Linked DNA regions of Homo sapiens: region 2 is linked to region 1. Evidence: promoter capture Hi-C in 16 types of primary human blood cells and fetal thymus (Javierre and others, 2016). All regions are on one chromosome and are shown on one strand. Each heading gives the region's core, a stretch centred on a gene start or on the middle of the fragment in contact. The rest is flanking DNA. Distances are from core to core; before and after follow the strand shown. Region 1 holds the start of ZBTB8OS (zinc finger and BTB domain containing 8 opposite strand). Region 2 holds the start of ZSCAN20 (zinc finger and SCAN domain containing 20).

Evidence for each region. Contacts are between HindIII fragments. The CHiCAGO score rates a contact against its expected background, and 5 or more counts as called.
Region 2: a contact is called between a fragment that was not itself captured here and the fragment with the promoter of ZBTB8OS in region 1, in 3 of 17 cell types (fetal thymus, naive CD4 T cells and non-activated CD4 T cells). The highest score is 7.9, in fetal thymus.

What each region holds. Positions count from the first base shown.
Region 1 is chr1:32,647,764-32,651,799 of GRCh38, reverse strand. ZBTB8OS (zinc finger and BTB domain containing 8 opposite strand) reads left to right here and starts at 1,250. Exons shown (of 7, transcript NM_178547.5): 1 at 1,250-1,367. The coding sequence starts at 1,271. It overlaps RBBP4 (RB binding protein 4, chromatin remodeling factor), which reads right to left and starts at 592. Exons shown (of 12, transcript NM_005610.3): 1 at 478-592. The coding sequence starts at 493. RefSeq lists enhancers at 1-43, 204-792, 793-1,380, 2,514-2,653 and a silencer at 344-913. The HindIII fragment of the contact is 3,350 bases long and covers 895-4,036 here.
Region 2 is chr1:33,471,108-33,474,979 of GRCh38, reverse strand. ZSCAN20 (zinc finger and SCAN domain containing 20) reads right to left here and starts at 2,335. Exons shown (of 8, transcript NM_001377376.1): 1 at 2,289-2,335. The HindIII fragment of the contact is 1,145 bases long and covers 1,037-2,181 here.

The DNA of each region.
Region 1 (4,036 bases), core at 1-2,500:
AAATCCCCACGGCAGAGGCATCCACACTCTCCACTTTCGCGGCGCCGAAACTCCTCGGGCCATCCCCGCCAAACACTCCGTTACCCGTTCCAGGCCAAGGGGCCAGCCAGGCCTTCGGAGCACGCTCGTGCGCGCCGAAACTCACAAGCCCGACGAGGAGGCCCGAGCTCCGAGCCTTGTGGGTAGGAAGCGGTGTCCCCACGCTCGGGACAGAGGCCGAGAAACCGATATCGGAGGCAGGAAGAGAAACAAACACTGGCCGGGGGCCCCACCGCTGGCTTCGCCAGCTGCGACCGAAATCGGTCCCAGGGAACTGGCGAGCCGTTAGCACGCCCCGCGGGGAGTTCCCTCTTCACGCCTTCAGTACCGGGGACTGCACTCGGCAAACTCGGGCCTGCCCTCACTGTTAGGCCATGTCGAGGCCGCGGCTCAGCCCAGGCACCCACTGCCCTCCTGGGTCGGCCCCGGCACCCTCACCTTCCTTGTCGGCCATGGCGGGCAGGCGAGCCGGGGGAATCCTGGGGTCGAGCGTTGCGGGAGGGGCGGGGAGGCTGCAAGAGCTCGCTCTGTGCGCGCGGCCTCTATTGTTTCCTGCGCCCCCAGCGCGAGGGCTGACTCGCGCACCTTCGCGCCAACATCAGCCAATGGGAGCGCTCCTAATGGCGGGATGGGCGGGGAAGCCGCGTTCGCGACCAATCCAGACGCGCGGAGTAGCTTTCCGCGGGGACCGAGGCGCGCGCTCCGCCCCTCCCCCCACGCCTCCCCGAGCCGACTTCCAGCGATTGCGCGCGCCGGCGTTGACGGGACTGCGCCCGGTCAGGGTCACGTGAGAGAGGTTTGGTCCGCACACTCCCGCGGCAAGAGGGCAGCCATTTTCTTGAAGGCTATTAAGCTTACGACCCTTTCAGAGTACTGAGATGAAAAATCTAGAATGCCTTCGGGTCTAGTTATCAATTTTGGGGGTGAAGCGGGGGAAAGAACCTCGCCAGTCAGACCCAGACGGGTTTCATTCAAGGTGCCCTTCAACGTTTTTCCTTAGTCTTTGGAAAGAACTAGTAATGAAGGAATCGCAGAAGATGGGGTTTTGGCTTTTTAAATATGCGATCCAAGCGGCAGGGTAGGGACTAAAGTAGGTCAACAGCCAACTCCGAGAAAGGAGTGTGGTCCTTTAAGGGTGTGCGCCAAGGGGCGGAGTCTAGAGCGGAAGTAGTAACTCCGGGCCGAAGTCCGGTGGATGAAGGGCGGAAGTAGAGTGTCTAATCCTGCAGTCATGGCGCAGGAAGAGGAAGATGTTAGAGATTACAATTTGACTGAAGAACAGAAGGCGATCAAGGCCAAGTATCCGCCAGTCAATAGGAAGTACGAGTGTGAGTAGGTGGCTTACTTCTCTCTTTACATGTAAGCACACAGGCATCCCCTCTCCTTACCCGCGGCTTCCTGCTGCTCTTTCTACTGTGCCCCATGGGTACTTCAGGCATGATCCCATTTGTGCCGGCTGTTGTAGTCGCGTTCGTACTTCTCCTGGGGATGCTGAAGGAAAAAGCCACCTGGTTTAATAGTCGCGAAACCTGGCCTCCCTCATTTACAGTCTCTTGAACTTCTTCCACATGTGCCTAATCACATTTATCTTCGTAAATTCTAAAGATAACCATATTTTCAGGCGTTTGCAGGGTTGTTACCCCCATGTATTTCCCAACGGTGAGATTAGAGTGTGCGAGGTTAGAGGACTCGGAAAGCTAATTAGGGGATTTCTAACTTGATGTTTCACCTCGATCATATTAGCAAAAAACCTGGTTTTGCCATTTATGATTGTGATTTTTAAAAATGATTATTTTAGGCCGGGCTCGGTGGCTGAGGCCTGTGATCCCAGCACTTTGGGAGGCCGAGGCGGGCGGATCACCTGAGGTCGGAAGTTCGAGATCAGCCTGACCAACATGGAAAAACCCCGTCTCTACTAAAAATACAAAATTAGCTGGGCGTGGTGGAGCATGTCTGTAATCCCAGCTACTCGGGAGACTGAGGCAGGAGAATCGCTTGAACCCGGGAGGCGGAGGTTGCGGTGAGCCGAGATCGCCCCATTGCACTCCAGCCTGGGCAACGAGCGAAACTCTGTCTCAAAAAAAAAAAAAAATGTGTGTGTGTGTGTGTGTGTGTGTGTGTGTGTGTTTTTAGAGATGGGGTCTCGCTCTGTCGTCCAGGCTGGAGTGCAATGGAGCGATCATAGCCCGCGCTGCAGTGCCCAGCTGGTTTTGCCATTTATTCGCTTAGTGACTTTAGGCAAATCACATAACCTATCTTTGTCTCTTAAATTCTATATTAAACGTTAAGCTGTCATCCCTAAAGGTAGCTGTGGTTTGGGGAGCACAAATCTGACTTTTATTTATCTGCTTAAAATCTTTCATTAATTTCTCATTGTCCTCTCTGTAAAATCTACTTATTTACCATAGTATTCTAGGCAATGTGCTTTCTGGAGCTGGCATACCTCCTAGCATATCCCCTTCTCTCACTTAAAAACAATTTTAAAATATTATAGGCCGTTTGCGGTGGCTCACACTTATAATCCCAGCACTTTGCGAGACTGACGTGGGTGGATCACCTGAGGTCAGGAGTTCCAGACCAGCCTGGCCAACATGGTGAAACCCCGTCTCTACTAAAAATACAAAAATTAGCTGCGCATGATGGTGGGCGCCTGTAATCCCAGCTACTCGGGAGGCTGAGGCAGGAGAATTGCTTGAACCCAGGAGGGTGGAGGCTGCAGTGAGCCGAGATCACACCACTGCACTCCAGCCTGGGCAACAGAGTGAGACTGTCTCAAAAAAAAAAAAAAAAAAAAAAAGGCCTGGTGCTGTGGCTCACGCCTGTAATCCCAGCACTTTGGGAGGTTGAGGCGGGTGGATCACCTGAGGTCAGGAGCTTGAGATCAGCCTGGCCTGGCCAACATGGTGAAACCCCATCTCTACTAAAAATACAAAAATTAGCTAGGCATGGTGGTGGGTGCCTGTAATCCCAGCTGCTTGGGCGGCTGAGGCAGGAGAATCGCTTGAACCTGGGAGGCGGAGGTTGCAGTGAGCCGAGATTGCACCACTGCACTCCAGCCTGGGCGACAGAGCCAGACTCCATCTCAAAAAAAAATTATTTTTAATAGGTCATATATATTGATTTGAAATTCAGAAAGTGTAACATAGGCAGTGAAAAGTAACTCTGGCAGCCCCCATCCTCAACTACCTAGTCCCCCTCTGTAGAGCAGTCATCGTTACCTTTTTCTTACATGTACATACCTAGATGTTCTAGCATTTGCTTTAACCAATTTTCAGTTGATGGACGTTTAGGCTATTTCTACTCTTGTGGTATTAGAAACAGTGCAGCAGTGAATACACTTGTACATCCACTGTTTTGTACATGTGCAAGTGAATCTGTAGAATCAAGTTCTCCAAGTTTTTTTTGTTTCCATTGCTAAGACTCCTACATTTTTTAAAAGGATATTTTAACTTGGACAGTTATTGCCAAATTGCTCTCTATAGGAGTTGTACCAATTTATACTTTCACTAGTATTGTGTGAATGTGCCTCTTTCCTCCCACTTCTACTAATTGTTACCATACTTTTTTATCTTTTCTAATTTGTAAAGTATACTTACTGTATTTTTCTTATTGTAAGTGAAGTTGAACATATTATACTGTTTTGGAAGCTATTTGTATTTCCCATTCTGGGGTGTGTATGTTAATATTCTTAGCCCTTTTTTCTCTTGGGTTATTTTTTTTTTGTCTTGGGTTGTTGGTTTTTCTTACTAGGCAGAAAGTGTTTTTATGCAATGCAGTTCATTAACCAGCGGTCCCCAACCTTTTTGGCACTAGGGACTGGTTTCACGGAAGTCAGTTTTTCCACCAACGGGGGTTGTAGGGGAGGATGGTTTCAGGATGATTCAAGCGCATTACATTTATTGTGCATTTTATTTCTATTATTATTACGTTGTAATATATAATGAAATAATTATACAACTCACTGTAATATAGAATCAGTGGGAGCCCTGAACTTGTT
Region 2 (3,872 bases), core at 360-2,859, 820 kb before region 1:
TACAGCCTGATCTTACTCAGCAGTTGCCCTAGGTTCCCCAATTAGTATGATGGGGTAGAGCAAGGGAGAAGGGAGACTAGAGTCAGTGGCTACAAGTTTAAATGGGTATAAGGACCTAGCAATGTAAATGAGTCAATGACTGAAATGAACTGGGTGGGCACTACAGCCAACTATAGAGTGCCAGGGGAACATATGCCCAGAATATTCCTAAGCCTGCTGATTTTTCCAAAAGAAACTAGCACTCTGGATTTTTAAATGTTGGTAACCAACTCAAAATTTTTTCACACACTATGAGATTAAATAAAGCATGATGGTGGACTTCATTCAGCATGGGCTGTCGCTTTGCCACTTAGATTCAGCTAAGTGATCTCAAAGCTCTCTTCCAATATCCAGAAAGACCTAGAAAGAGTACAGAGCCTCCCAGGTCATGAGGGATAAGTGCTGACTGCCATCAAAATCAAGATGTCTTTACAAACACAGGGAAGCTGAGGGGCATCTTGACTCCTAGGGCAGTAAGTATGAACGTGGTCATGAGGAGCCCACTCAGTGAAAAGGGAAGAGAAGATGCTCTCCAGTTCCACAGGAAAGGCCAAGACTGGTCTGTGACCTCCAAAGAGAAAAAACTGGGAACTCTTAAAGGCTGTCAGGCCCATTTGGCTGACAGTCCAAGCTATGGCTTAAAGCAGTCTGACCTGACCTCACACATAAGGGCTTAAGCCAGGGAGAGCAAATAGGTTTCATTTAAAGCAGAAACTTCAATCAACTGGAAGTGGCTGCCTAGAGTAGTGTGCTGAGGGCTCTGAGTACAGTGTGAATATGTGCTGAGAACCAACCAATTAGCCATGACTGCCAGGGACACAGGAAGGGGCACTGGCAGCACACATTCCATGTATTTGTCACCCCTGGCTTAAACTCCCATTGGCAATGAATCAGCTTCAGCTTCCAGCAGATAGCCTTGCCAGGCAGAGGAAGACTAAAGCTCCTGCCCTGGAAATCCACTGGCAATAGAAGTCTTCAAGGCTGGTATAGCAAAGCTTACCCTGCATGGTCTTCATTCACACATACATACATCAAGTATTTACTGCTTTACATCAAGTGTTTACTGCTCTAGACTGGGCAATGGGGAAACAGAGGTGATTGAGACACTGTTCCTGTCCTGGAGATGTTCACAGTCTAATGGAAGAGACACACACTTCACAGATAATTATGATCAAATGTGGTAATAGGAGAAGTTATGGGAGCTGAGGGTTGGGGGTGACTTAATTTGCTTAAGGGAATTGAGCAAAGTAAGAGTTGAAATTTTTTTAAGTTAAAGAAGTTCTCTTGGCAAAGAAGGTGAAGGGCAAGGAGAGAATATTCTAAGCTGAGAGAACAGCATATATAATGATGGAAAACCAAATGGCCTACCCAGGAAACGAGGAAAACCTTGACAGCCCTGGAGTGTGAGGTGCATGAAGATTAGGCTGCAAAAGGAGTTTATGAAGGACAAGGTGTTTGGACTTTACAGGTGCTGGGTGCCAATGAAAGTTTTCAAGCAGAAGGCATAATCAGATTTGTAGGTGAAACAGATCACACTAGGTGCAATGTGTGTGTTCATGCTGGGAAACTGAAAAGGCTTCTGCGAAAACCCTACAAGAAAGAGGCCGACTGAAAAGATATTAAAGAAATTAAAGATCGGAAGATCCTTGGACGTGGAAGAATGCAAGAGGAATCAGTGGGTAAGTAGGTAGGTAGGTAGGTAAATGGGATGATCGTGCCACTGACTTCCATAAGACATAAGGAAAGAAGTGCAGGTTTGGGGCAGAACACAATAGCCAGTCCCATCCACTGGGTTCCAGAGGTAACAATCATTAGGGAGGTAACAAATTAGATATGCTTGTTCTAGATGGGAAGGTAGAGATTGAAACACTATTTTTAAGGTCGGGCTTCAAGCTCAGGCCCTCTTCACTTCTTGCCAGGGCCCCAGACCCTCTATCCTTTCCTCTGTGGTCTCCAGACCTTTCTATGACTCTCCCACCTCCAAAACCTCCCTCAACCCCCTCACCTTCAGACCCTTCTAAGGCCCTCCTCATTCCCAGGGCCCTCTATCGCCTCCTCATCCCCGACCCCTGTATGACCCTTCCCATCTCCGGCCTCTACATCCTTTGACCGTCCCTCACCCTCCACCCCCACATATAAGCTTCTTTCTCCCCTCTCACCTTCCCCAGCCCCCTGTGTCACCACCACCTCCTAAGTCTCCAGCCCAGAGCCTGCGTCTCAGCTGCCCCCGCCCCGCCACCCGGACTCACCCACCGAGACACCCACTTCACAACAGGGCGGAAGTGCTCCCGGGCTCGTGCGGGGAATGCTGGGACGCGGAGTCCGAGCGGCGCCACCCTGGGAATGGAACGTCTGAGACCACAATTCCCAGAAGGAACCGCGCGAGCGCCGGGGGCGGCCCCCTCCGTTTGCTGCCTTTCAGACGTCTTCAGCCAATAGATATGTCATCTTCTAACGGACCCTGGCACTGGAACAAATCGGAACGGGCGCGACACATGGGGGCGGGACCTGTTGCGATCCTGGCCTTTTCCATAGGCTTCCGGATAACAGCACCGCCCAATGGGAGGGCACTCGAGCAGAAGGGGGCCCAGTTCTACTGAGGGGTCGAAGTGAGAGCCTCAGACCCTGAAAGATCAAAGCAGACACAATAAGAAATAAGAAGAGAGAATGACTAGAGGTGACCAGCCCGATAGGCAGGAGAGAACTGGACAGTTGTAGCTTTAATTTCCAGCTTACAGCTAAGCTGTGTGACTTTGGAAGAATTCTGAACCTCGTTCTCTTCAACCATAAAATGAGGGTAGTAATGGCATCCATGTCACAGAGTTTTGTGAACTTTCAATGAGATAATACACCTAAAACGATTAGCTCAGGGCCTGGCTCCTAATAATGCACAGCGATTGTTAGCTATTATTATGTAAATCAGTTAGTACAGAGCTTGGCACTTCCTAGGTGTTGGAAGAATGTTAATCATTATTACAAAATAATCCTCATATAAATGCGGGTGCTCTGTACCACTGTGAATACTTTGGGGCATGAACAATCTAATGTGGTGTTGAGAATGGGGGCTTTGTAGTCAGACATGGATCCAAATCCCAACTCAACTACTTCGCAGCTGTGTGGCCTTGAACAAATTACTGCCATCTATTTTGTCTTTGGAATTTTCATCTATAAAATGCAAGTAATGTAAGAGAACTTACATCACAGGGTGTTATGAAGGTTAAATGAGACTATTTAGGTAAAAGTCTCTGAAGTCAAGCTGCTTGTGTCTGAAAGTTCTTACTTTCAAATGAAGGATGCAGGTCATACCACCCGCGTTGTGAAACCTTGGGCAAATTACTTAGCTTCTTTATGCCTGCATTTTCCCAGCTGTAAAATGGGAATGATAATACTTGCCTCTTCCTGAGACAGTTGTTGAGAGGAATAAATGGGAGAAGGTATGTAAAGAGCGTGACACATGTCTGACACACAGAAAGTGTTTAATAATCATTAGCTAGTCCAGGCACGGAGGCTCATGCCTGTAATCCCAGCCCTCTGGGAGGCTGAGACGGAAGGATCGCTTTAGTCCAGGAGTTTGAGACCAGCCTGGGCAGCGAAGTGAGACCTCGTCTCTATTTTAAAAAATAGAAAATACAATAATATACATAATCATTAGCTATTATTATTATTACCAATGGTTATGCGGCTTAGGGAAAATTGACAATACCTAGCATCTGGTAAGAGCTCAATGCATGTTGGCTAGTGTTAAAATAGGAGAATTCTTAGCTTTAACGACCCAGTTTAAATTCCTTCTCTGTGAAACATGTTCCAACTTATTTGTAGTAATAACTCATGTG